Linked DNA regions of Homo sapiens: all the other regions are linked to region 3. The links are contacts of gene promoters, found by promoter capture Hi-C in blood cells and fetal thymus (Javierre and others, 2016). All regions are on one chromosome and are shown on one strand. Each heading gives the region's core, a stretch centred on a gene start or on the middle of the fragment in contact. The rest is flanking DNA. Distances are from core to core; before and after follow the strand shown.

What was found. The method cuts DNA at HindIII sites, captures the fragments that hold promoters and counts their contacts. A CHiCAGO score of 5 or more calls a contact.
Region 1: a fragment that was not itself captured here is called in contact with the fragment with the promoter of NCOA3 in region 3 in 3 of 17 cell types (activated CD4 T cells, total B cells and naive B cells); the score reaches 10.5 in activated CD4 T cells.
Region 2: a contact is called between a fragment that was not itself captured here and the fragment with the promoter of NCOA3 in region 3, in 4 of 17 cell types (activated CD4 T cells, naive B cells, total B cells and 1 more). The highest score is 10.7, in activated CD4 T cells.
Region 4: a contact is called between a fragment that was not itself captured here and the fragment with the promoter of NCOA3 in region 3, in 1 of 17 cell types (total B cells). The highest score is 5.4, in total B cells.

The regions. Positions count from the first base shown.
Region 1 is chr20:47,313,603-47,316,302 of GRCh38, reverse strand. The region is part of intron 2 of ZMYND8 (zinc finger MYND-type containing 8); the gene reads left to right. Among named protein-coding and RNA genes, the nearest start is that of ZMYND8, 42 kb to the left of the region's middle. The HindIII fragment of the contact is 5,242 bases long and covers 1-2,700 here.
Region 2 is chr20:47,293,548-47,296,247 of GRCh38, reverse strand. ZMYND8 (zinc finger MYND-type containing 8) reads left to right here. Exons shown (of 23, transcript NM_001281775.3): 5 at 1,469-1,582. Among named protein-coding and RNA genes, the nearest start is that of ZMYND8, 62 kb to the left of the region's middle. The HindIII fragment of the contact is 4,787 bases long and covers 1-2,700 here.
Region 3 is chr20:47,500,614-47,503,313 of GRCh38, reverse strand. It overlaps NCOA3 (nuclear receptor coactivator 3), which reads right to left and starts at 1,427. Exons shown (of 23, transcript NM_181659.3): 1 at 1,295-1,427. RefSeq lists a silencer at 1,068-1,187 and a cis regulatory region at 2,439-2,511. The HindIII fragment of the contact is 2,001 bases long and covers 96-2,096 here.
Region 4 is chr20:47,337,083-47,339,782 of GRCh38, reverse strand. The region is part of intron 2 of ZMYND8 (zinc finger MYND-type containing 8); the gene reads left to right. Among named protein-coding and RNA genes, the nearest start is that of ZMYND8, 18 kb to the left of the region's middle. RefSeq lists enhancers at 1-398, 2,403-2,700. The HindIII fragment of the contact is 1,068 bases long and covers 913-1,980 here.

The sequences.
Region 1 (2,700 bases), core at 65-2,564, 190 kb after region 3:
CTGGAGTACAATGGCATGATCTCGGCTTACTGCAACCTCCGCCTCCTGGGTTCAAGCAATTTTCCTGCCTCAGCCTCCTGAGTAGCTGGGATTATAGGTGCTCACCATCACATTCAGCTAATTTTTGTATTTTTAGTAGAGACGGGGTTTCACCATGTTGGTCAGGCTGGTCTCGAACTCCTGACCTTGTGATCTGCCCACCTTGGCCTCCCAAAGTGCTGGGATTACAGGCGTGAGCCACCGTGCCCGGCCTCATGCCTGGTTCTTAATACCCAGTAGACCTTCCCATATTGTTACAATTTCAGCAAAATGTCACAAGGAGAGGAAAATTCTGCTGCTTTCCGCTCCATGCCAAGCTGTTTTCCTGAGTCACTGCTCTGTCCTCTCCATAAGGCTGCATTCCTCCCTCACCCACGTTAACTCATTCAGAACCACTCATTTTTGGGGGATGGGTGAGAGGCAGAGGGTTGTGAGTGAGCCAGCCGGGCGGGGTCACAGGTCCTACTCCCTCAGAAAAGGCAGCAGAAAAGTCTTTCAGATCCAGGGTGAACCAGTGGTTCAGTCGACAGTGGCTGTTTGTCATTGTTCAAAGTTTATAGATGAAATGCACTGGGCAATACATCCTTGTCAGAATTAAATCATTAAAGAAGAAAAAATTGACTCAGCTTTCTGGAAAGGGTCCTTATGGAGCCTGGGTACCACGGCTACAGTCAGGTGTACACCCACCAGTCCATCATCACCAGAGGCCCAGCCCCCACTGGAGTGGGGGGCATTTAAGTAATAATGCCCCCCTGCTGTCTCATCCCTCCGAAGGATACCGAATCCAGCAGGCATTTCCTAATTCTTCTCCCTACAACCCTTCATTGAAATCTCCTGCTGTTGACTGATGTGTCTGTTGTTTGGAACCTATCAAATTTCGACCCCTTGGATACAGTCACTGAACTCTCATCAACTCCAGGGGGAATTGGTGTTTGTAACAGCAAACAGAATTGGGGTTTTTATGTTTTGCTGAAACTAGAAGGTTTGGAATACTCTCAGGTGTGGGCATGCTTGGGCTAGGACCCACCTCCCCCTACCTCTTGCTGAGCAGAACCTCAGTTTCCCCCTTTGTTTCCTGGTGGGCTTGGGTGATAGTCCCTTGCCAACTCTAAATCGCTTACAAGTATATTACTGTCTAGTGATTTTTTTTCCCACTTTCTCATTAAATTAAGTAATGTTGAAGAGGGACTTTTAACATCCTCTGGGGGCCCTGAAGTTTTTAATCATTGGAGCTGAGGACACCTTTGCAAAGGTGAAGGAAGCTATGACTCCATGTCCCTAGAAATTGCACTCCTGTATACAGTGATGGCCTGTTCAAGGGTCCCTGGAGCACTGTCTGGTCTTTAAACAAGAACTTCTAGTCTAGTCCCTTTCTCCCGGCTCTTCCCATTTTGCAGGTGAGGCCCTGAGGCCCTGAGAGGTGGAGACTTGCCTGGGGTTGTTTCCTGTTTAGCCTCATTCTCCAGCCTGACTCCCTTGCTTAGCTTCTATCCTGAGTCCTGAACCAACCCCTCAAATAATGTCTGGAAGTAGAGGCCATTGGCTCTGGCTCGCCAGTGTGGAACAGGATTGTGTAGAGTTGAGAACTCAGACCCCATCTCCTAAACACATACACATACCCTAGCGTTCCTCAAACTAGTGTACCTCCCAGTCTTCGGGAGGACTTATTAAAACAGATTGCTGGGCCCTACCCCAGAGTTTCTGATTCTGTAGATCTGGGGTGGGGCCTGATAATTTGCATTCTTTTTGTTTTGTTTTGTTTTTAAAGATGGAGTCTCTCTCTTTCGCCCAGGCTGGAGTGCAGTGGTGCAATCTTGGCTCACTGCAACCTCTGCCTCCTGGCGCCAAGTGATTCTCCCGCTTCAGCCTCCCTAGTAGTTGGGACTACTGGAGCGTACCACCACACCTGGCTGATTTTTGTATTTTTAGTAGAGACAGGATTTTACCATCTTGGCCAGTCTGGTCTCGAACTCCTGACCTCAAGCGATCTGCTAACCTCAGCCTCCCAAGGTGCTGGGATTACAGGCGTGAGCCACCGCACCTGGCCAATTTTCTTTATTTTCGTAACGTCATCCAGTCACATGATAAATAAGTACACAAGGGTATAGAGTGGAAAATAATCCTTCCCTGGACTCCCCTTCCCTGGACTCCCTGCAGGCACCCCTCCCAAGGCAACCAGTAGTCCCCAAGTCGAGCTTTGTTGTACTTTTGTGTTCATCCAGGAATATTCTAGGTTTATGCAAACATTGATGTGTATATTAAATCTTTTTTTGGGAGGAATATTGGTCCATTAATGGTGCTAGATACACTTTATTTATTATTAATTTTTTTGAGACGGAGTCTTGCTCTGTTGCCCAGGCTGGAGTGCAGTCGTGCGATCTCAGCTCACTGCAACCCCTGCCTCCTGGGCTCAATCGATTCTCCTGCCTCAGCCTCCCAAGTAGCTGGGACTATAGGCACGTGCCACCACACCCAGCTAGTTTTTTGTATTTTTAGTAGAGATGAGGTTTCACCATGTTGGCCAGTCTGGTCTCGAACTCCTGACCTCAGATGATTCGCTTGCCTCGGCCTCCCAAAGTGCTGAGATTACAGGTGTGAGCCACCGTCCCCAGCCTAATTATTATTATTATTATTTTTTTGAGATGGAGTCTCACCCCTCTG
Region 2 (2,700 bases), core at 5-2,504, 210 kb after region 3:
TGAATGATAGTTGGGCAGGCAGCCCAAGTGTTTGCCATGGATAAGTTACCTGGAAACAAACCAGAATCAAACAAACAGGTGCTCTGTGTCTAAGATTCGGGGCTCTGAATTTCTTCCAGGGATGAGTTGTTACGGCAGTCAACTGGGAAGACTGAACGTTGCAAGGCTGTGGTAGCTAAGCAAATAGATGCATGCGTCATGCACTGTTTTCAGCTTCTGAGTGACTCTTGTGTTGGCCTTTTCCTCGACAACCAACGAGACACATCTGAGAGTTCCTTTTGGAGGCCCCAGAGATGTGAAAAATGGAAACAGAATCCAAATTAATTGGAGAAAACTTTTCTCAGCTCTCCCTACACAGATGGTTAAAGAGTGTTTCCTGACATGATCAGAATTTGCTATTTTTGTTGTTGCTGCTACATAAGGATTCTGAAGCCTTAAGATGTAGTACCAGATTTACATAGCAGAATCTGGTTTCAGACGTTCCTTTGGGTCTCTTCTTTGATGGGAATTTCCCTTAGGAGCTGATATCTATTACCCATGGAGATAGACAGTTAGGTTAGGTTGTGCTCCTTGTGTACTTTGACACAGTGCCTTAGGTGGGTTCAAAGTAAGGGAGATGGACAATGAAGTCATACGTATTATTAGTCCACTGCTTTCCCTTGTAATCTTTCTGCAGGGAAGTCTGTCCCTTTCCATCAGTGATGTCATTGAATTAATGCCTTGTCAGTTTCCTGAATGACAGCCCAGAACCTTAAGAGGATCAGGATAAATGGTTGATAAGTACCCATCCTGTGAAGTAATCACCCTGAAATCATCCGTGGCCTTTACTTTCTTTTTTTATACATACATATTTTTGAGACAGGGTCTCGCTCTGTCACCCAGGCTAGAGTGCAGTGGCACAATCATGGTTCACTGCAGCCTCCGCCTCCCAGGCTCAACCCATCCTCCCACCTCAGCCTACCAAGTAGCTGGGACTACGGATGCGTGCCACCATGCCTGGCTAGTTTTTGTATTTTTTTGTAGAGATGGAGTTTCATCATGTTGCCAGGCTGGTCTCCAACACTGGGGCTCAAGCAATCTACCCACCTCAGCCTCCCCAAGTGCTGGGATTACAGGCGTGAGCCACCACGCCCACCTGGCCTTTGCTTTCATATCCCATTCTTGAAACCTAAAGGTTATAATAATGATGATTTTTCAGGCCCCTGTTTAGCCACATCTTTTCTCAGATCATGTCGTCTTCCTGAGCTAAAAATGCTTCCTGATAAGGAAATAGATTGATACGCTTTTTAATAGTTACCCACTGATCTGGTACATTTTGTTCCAGGAGTCTTTGCTAAGTGAAACAACAAGTCTCATTGGGATGAGAATTGCTTTTTGTCTGTCAGTTGACTGAAAAAATAGAAATCAGTACATGGATGGTAATTTCTTTTTTCTAACCGGACGTTTATGTATGACTTTGACTTTGTAGAAAATTACAGTAGCAGAATGCATCGAGACCCAGAGTAAAGCCATGACAATGCTCACCATTGAACAGTTATCCTACCTGCTCAAGTTTGCCATTCAGAAAATGAAACAGCCAGGGGTAAGAAGAAAGTTCCTCTTGGTATACGCGTAAATGAACGTAATGACATATGTTTTGTTCTGTTAATAGCTTAGCTTTTTAGGTACCTGATGTATTCTTTGGGCCTCCTTGCATCCCCAAATTCAAGTATGTGTAAATCACACATGAGGTATGATGCCATTCAGTTAATTCTCTGTCGTAGTAAGCACTGTATGTCCCAGAGGAGTTTAATTGGTACATTAGTCTGTTTTCACACTATTGTAAAGATATTACCTGAGACTGAGTAATTTATGAAGAAAAGAGGTTTTTTTTTTTGTTTGTTTGTTTGTTTTTCTGAGATGGAGACTTGCTCTGTCACCCAGGCTGGAGTGCAGTGGTGTGATGTTGGCTCACTGCAACCTCTGCCTCCCAGGTTCAAGTGATTCTCGTGCCTCTGCCTCCCCAGTAGCTGGGATTACAGGCTCCCGCCACCGCACTGGCTATTTTTTTTTTTGTATTTTTAGTAGAGATGGGGTTTCACCATGTTGGCCAGGCTGGTCTCAAACTCCTGACCTCAAGTGATCCTCCAGCCTCGGCCTCCCAATATGGTGGGATTACAGGCATGAGCCACTGTGGCTCGCCAGAAAAGAGGTTTAATTGACTCACAGTTCTGCATGGCTAGGGAGCCCTCAGGAAACTTAAAATGATGGTGGAAGGCGAAGGGGAAGCAAGGCACGTTTTACATGGCAGCAGGAGAAGGGGGGTGGGAAGTGCCAAACACTTTTAAACCACAAGATCTTGTGAGAACTCACTCACTATCACGAGAACAGGATGGGGGAAACCACCCCCATAATCCAGTCACCTCCCACCAGGTTCCTCCCTTGACATGTAGGGATTAAAATTTGAGATGAGGTTGGGTGGGGACACAGAGCCAAACCATATCAATTGGGCAATGACATAGTAAAACGTTGAGGGGGATTGAAAATTCTGACTGGTTGCAAAGTGAAACCTCCTATAACACCCAGCAAGGGGAGCTTTGTGCTCCTTCCCATGGGAGTTAGGAAAATCCATTTCAATGAGGAAGCTGAGCACAACACAGTTTATTTATGTCCCAGATCTGATGATGGAACCTTCAAGGAAAACTCAACCAGTGACTTTTC
Region 3 (2,700 bases), core at 178-2,677:
TTAACATTTTCGTTTGTGCAGCATTCGCTGAAGACCTAAGATTTTTATTCCTCCAATCACCTTCTCAACAACCTGCTGCAACAAATACTGAAGCTTTTTTGCAGCCAGGGATCAGTTAGGTGGATCCGAGGCCAGGCATTTAAATCAAAGAGATGCAGCAATCTTACTCAATACTACTACCACTCTCACGCATCTCATTCAACTCCATTTAAAACCACTGCAGCAAGACAGCTGGTACTCTCCTTCCTGTTTCTTTACCGTACAGGCTTAATAACAAAAACAGGTTGGTTTTGAAGCCCTGCTCAAATATTGCAAAAAGGAAGTCTTCGCATTCGGGAGGGGGAAAAAAGTTTCGACTTCGAGAGAATCTCATAGCTTCCGTGTCATTCCATTTGGGAATCCCAGATCCTGCCAGTGAGGTAGATGCTCGCTCTCTCGGTTAACTTTTCCACCCTAGATGCCCTCAAACTGCCTAGGAAGCAACTAAGTCTCCCAACGACCCATGGCTAGTTTTGTTAAGGCAGGTACAAGACAAGCAGTTTATTTAAACCATGACGAACTGGGTCGATGTTCATAAAATGAGAGATGGGGAGAGCAAAAAAAAAAAAAAAGTAGTAATAAAGACAGCCAAACTCCTAATTTTATCAACCAACTTCCCACTTGCCATTTCCCAGCCTTCACACCAGAGGTAGTAAAACGCCTTTTTACCGAGAAAACTAAGAAGCTACCCGAGCCCAACATGAAAATTCCGCGGACAATTCGTGTTAAAATATTTTTTAAATGCCCAAGTGAGGAGGAAACACAGCAACCAAATCTCACCCGGCTGGGAGGCTGGGGTGGGGGGGGTCCCCGCGGCTTTTCCCTCCCGTGCGTCCCAGAAGCTGCTAAGGAGCCGGGGCAGCAGGAGGACGACGCGGGGAGCTTTCAAAAGGGCTGGGGGAGGCAAGAGGAAGAAAAAACTTTAGGGACAGAAGGGGAAAGTGGGCCCCTGCAGTCCCCCCGCAAACTCCTCGGGTGACCCCTCCGCGCGGGGACCCCCTCGGATCCCCAAGCGGACTGCCACCCAGCTTCGTCTCAGCTCCTACCGCCGCGGGCCGCCCCCCGGGCTGAGGGGAAGCGGCGCGGCCCCGACACCCCGAAACTACCTCAGCGCGTCCCCCGGCCGGCGCGCCCCTCAGTGCCTTGGCAGATCTGAAGCCGCTGGCTCTCGCAGCCTGGGGAACTCGCCCCTCTTCCCTCCGCCTCGCACTCCACCCCCTCGCCCGCCACCGCCTCCTCCTTTATCTCCACTCACCTCCCGCCGCCATTTTCCTCGCAGCTCAGCTTTAAATCGGAAACTCGCCGCTCAGCCCGCAGCCGCCGCCGGCCGCCACCGACTAAGCCGCAGCCGCTGCCGTCGCTGTGGAGCGGCTGAGACAGCAGCAGCTAAAGTCGCCGCACGGGGGCCACTGGGATATGTAGTCCCGAGGCCACGCCCAGCACTACCGGTCCCAGGGGGCCTTGCGCGGCCGGCCTAGGGTTCCAGCGACCCCCACCCTGGCTTCCGCGGCGGAGGGCGTGGCGACGTGGGCTCGTGCGGCCGCTTTCGCCCAGCATCGACTGGGAGCTCCCTCGGGATCCGGAGAACCGGAATGCAGTCCTAGCCCTGCCCTTAATTTTTTTCATATTTGCCTTCGTCCAGTAATACCTAACATTTGTGGAGCGTTTCTGGTATGCCAAGCACGGATCCTCAAAACAAGCATCCGGTAGGGACCATGATCATCCTCATTTTTCAGATGAGCGAACTGAGGCACAAGGTCGGAAGCCACGAGGCTGTTCCTTAGCTGCTAAAGTCACTGGGTGAAATGTTGTTGGGCAGCAGTATATTCAGGGTATATTTAGTCCCGAAGTATCATCCCACAGCGTATTTATGACTTACAATAAAGAACAGCTTGCTTTACAATGGAAAGATCTGGCAGGCACCCCCTTACCAAGTGATCGAACTTAGCACCACCAATAATGGGTCAGGACTGTTGTTATGTGTCTCCTAATATGATGCAGTGGGGAAAGCATATTGCTACCTCTGTCGTATTCTTGCCACATACACACAAAAAGCTTACTTGAAAAAATAAACGAATTCAGAATGTGGGACATTCTACACAACATCTAGCCTGGAGTCTTTTAAAATATGACAGCATGAAAGAGGTGAAAACCAAAAGCAATAGGTGAGACTTGATTGGATTCAGGATGATTTTTTTATGTAAAAAGAATTTGGGGGGCAATTTCAATGTGGACTGTATGTTAGATAATATTGAGTCAGTATTAGATGTGTTGAGTGTAAATAAAATAGAATAATCTGACCACTTACCACCTCCACGGTCAGCACCATCATTTCCCACCTGGACCACTGCAACAGCCTCCTCAGTGTTCTGCCTGCTTCCACTCTTTCCTCTTAGAGTCTATACTCAACACAGCAGCCAGAGGAATCCTGGTAAGAACCAAGTCAGTCTCTGTCCCTCCTGCAAAATTCTTGCAGTAACCTGCAAAGCCCCATACAGCCCGTCTCTTGCCCTGCCCTTCCCTCTCTAAACTCATCACCTTCTTCTCTTCCACTCACTTCTGTAACTCAGCTACAATGGACTCGGCCTCTCCAACGTGCTTAGCACACTCTGGCCTTAAAGATCGTGCACTTGCTATTTCCTCTGCCTAGAACAGTATTTT
Region 4 (2,700 bases), core at 197-2,696, 160 kb after region 3:
TGGGGCCGGGTGTGGTGCCTCACTCACGCCTGTGATCCCAGCATTTTGGGAAGCCGAGGTGGGCGGATCATGAGGTAAGGAGATCGAGACCATCCTGGCTAACATGGTGAAACCCCGTCTCTACTAAAAATACAAAAAATTAGCCAGGCGTGGTCGCGGGTGCCTGTAGTCCCAGCTACTCAGGAGGCTGAGGCAGGAGAATGGCGTGAACCCGGGAGGCGGAGCTTGCAGTGAGCAGAGATTGCGCCACTGCACTCCAGCCTGGGCGACAGAGTGAGACTCCGTCTCAAAAAAGAATGGTTCTTGGGACAGGGTGGCTGCTCAAAAATGTTAGCTATGATTTGCATCAACTTAGAGACAGTGAATTTTTATTGCTAGGTCTGTCAGGTGGTGAGAATGACTGTTCTGCCATTTCCCCCACTTGCAGCCTCTAGGAAGAAGGTCTGGAGGCAGATGAGGAAACCATGCCCGGAAGACCCCCTGCTTAGAGGGGGCACAGTGAAGAATTGTGGGCCGGGCACTGTGGCTCATGCCTGTAATCCCAGCACTTTGGGAGGCCGAGGCGGGCGGATCACAAGGTCAGGAGATCGAGACCATTTTGGCCAACACAGTGAAACCCCGTCTCTACTAAAAATACAAAAAATTAGCCGGGCGTGGAGGTGGGCGCCTGTAGTCCTAGCTACTTGGGAGGTTGAGGCAGGAAAATGGCATGAACCTGGGAGGCAGAGCTTGCAGTGAGCCAAGATCACGCCACTGCACTCCAGCCTGGGTGACAGAGCGAGACTCTGTCTCACAAAAAAAAAAAAAAAAAGAAATAATTGTGTAGGGTTGCCCAGCAGGCAGGCTCGGGACCAGATAGGAATTTGCTTCTCTCCATCTAGGAGTCCAGTGCTTTGCACTGCCCTGCAAGCTTCCTGTCCTGTTGGCCTCTGTGACATTTGAAGAAGCCATTCTGCAGGTGTTTGGAAGGATTTTCTCGGGTGCTTGGGAATTCTTGCTTTGGTAGGGAATCATTGAGGGGAAGGGATCACCTTGTTTTGAGGGAGAACTTTCCCCAAGGATTCTCTGGGGTGGTTGTCGTTATGTGAAACTGAGCTCTCGTGCCCCATAGTGAGTGGCGGTGGTGGTAGCTTCTGTTTCCAGAGCACCTTTCTGCCGGAGCCACTTGGCTTAATATTCAAAGTCCTGGGGTTAAGATTGGGGTTGCTGAGGTTCCCAGAGCTGAAGTCTGCATGGTGAAAATATGATGTCTGTGAAGCTGACCGGGATGAAGCCTTATCTCTTGTTCAGTCCCAGTGATCTCAGCGTCCGCAGTGGGATGATCTCCAGGCTCAGTGAACATGTTTTTTTTTTTCCTCCAGCCTGCTTTTCTTGGGAAGTTTAGGGACTCTGTTCCCCTGTGACATGACCCGGGTCAGGGTCCTTCGGTTCTGAGCAGGAAAGGGATGGACTGCAGGTGGTCTGTTGGTGTGAAGCTGCTCCCACTGCATTGGTGGGAAGGCTGGAGGTCCAGGCCACTCTCGGGAGTAGAGCCAGCCCGGAGCCTCCTCAGGGACAATAGCGCAAAGTCCATGTGCACGTCTCTGGCCAGGGAAGGGCTAATATCCTGGACACCTGGACCCACCAACGCTGTCCCCACTGGGAAAGAGATGGGTCCTCAAAAGGAGATAAGGTGACCACTCTACCATCTTATGAACCTGGCAACGTGTTTTTCTCTACTTGCACTTAGAAAACAGGTGCTGAGCCGTCCTCTTCTTGGGAAACTTAGAAACTCTGACAATAATTGGTGCAGAATTCCTCAGTCCTATTCCTACATCTAGTCCATGTGACCTTTCAGTTTCTCTAACTGAATTTCAATTTTTACGCCCCTCTCCCCTTGACACATACTCACTTATTAACTGAGTAATTCCCAAGCCAGTCATTGCCATTATGCCAGCCTTGGCATTTAGTAGAGCGTTTTAGCTCTCAGGAGACAAAGCTTTCGAGCTTTCAAGATGTCAGGTTGACATTTGTGTCCGAGGGTAATGATCCTGCTGAAAGATGCTCCTACATCAATGGGAAGTGCCATCTCGATGCCAGGTGTGTTTGCGTGGCTAATATTTTCTGAGTACTTCATGGCATGATATGCAAATTACTTCATTTAATTTTCATACTAATTCCATGATGTGGGTGTGTCATTCCCATTTTACAGTTAAGGAAACTGAGGCTCAGATGAATTAAGGAAGTGTCAAAGTAGGGATGGAACTAGGGTCAGGTTTTATCTTTATTTATTTATTAATTATATAGAGGGTTATTGCCGTGTTGCCCAGGCTGCTCTTGAACTCGTGGGCTCAAGGGATCCACCTACCTCGGCTTTCCAAAGTGCTAGGTTTACAGGCGTGAGCCACCACTCCCGGCCCTTTGATTTATTTTATTTTATTTTATTTATTTATTTTTTTGAGACAGAGTCTCCCTCCATCACCCAGGCTGGAGTGCCTATCTCGGCTTACTGCAGCCTCCGCCTCCTGGATTCAATTGATTCTCGTGTCTCAGCCTCCGGTGTAGCTGGGGTTACAGGCGCCTGCCACCACGCCCGGCTAATTTTTGTATTTTTAGTAGAGACAGGGTTTCACTGTGTTGGCCAGGCTGGTCTCGAATTCCTGACCTCAGGTGATCCACCCGCCTTGGCCTCCCAAAGTGCTGGGATTACAGGCGTGAGCC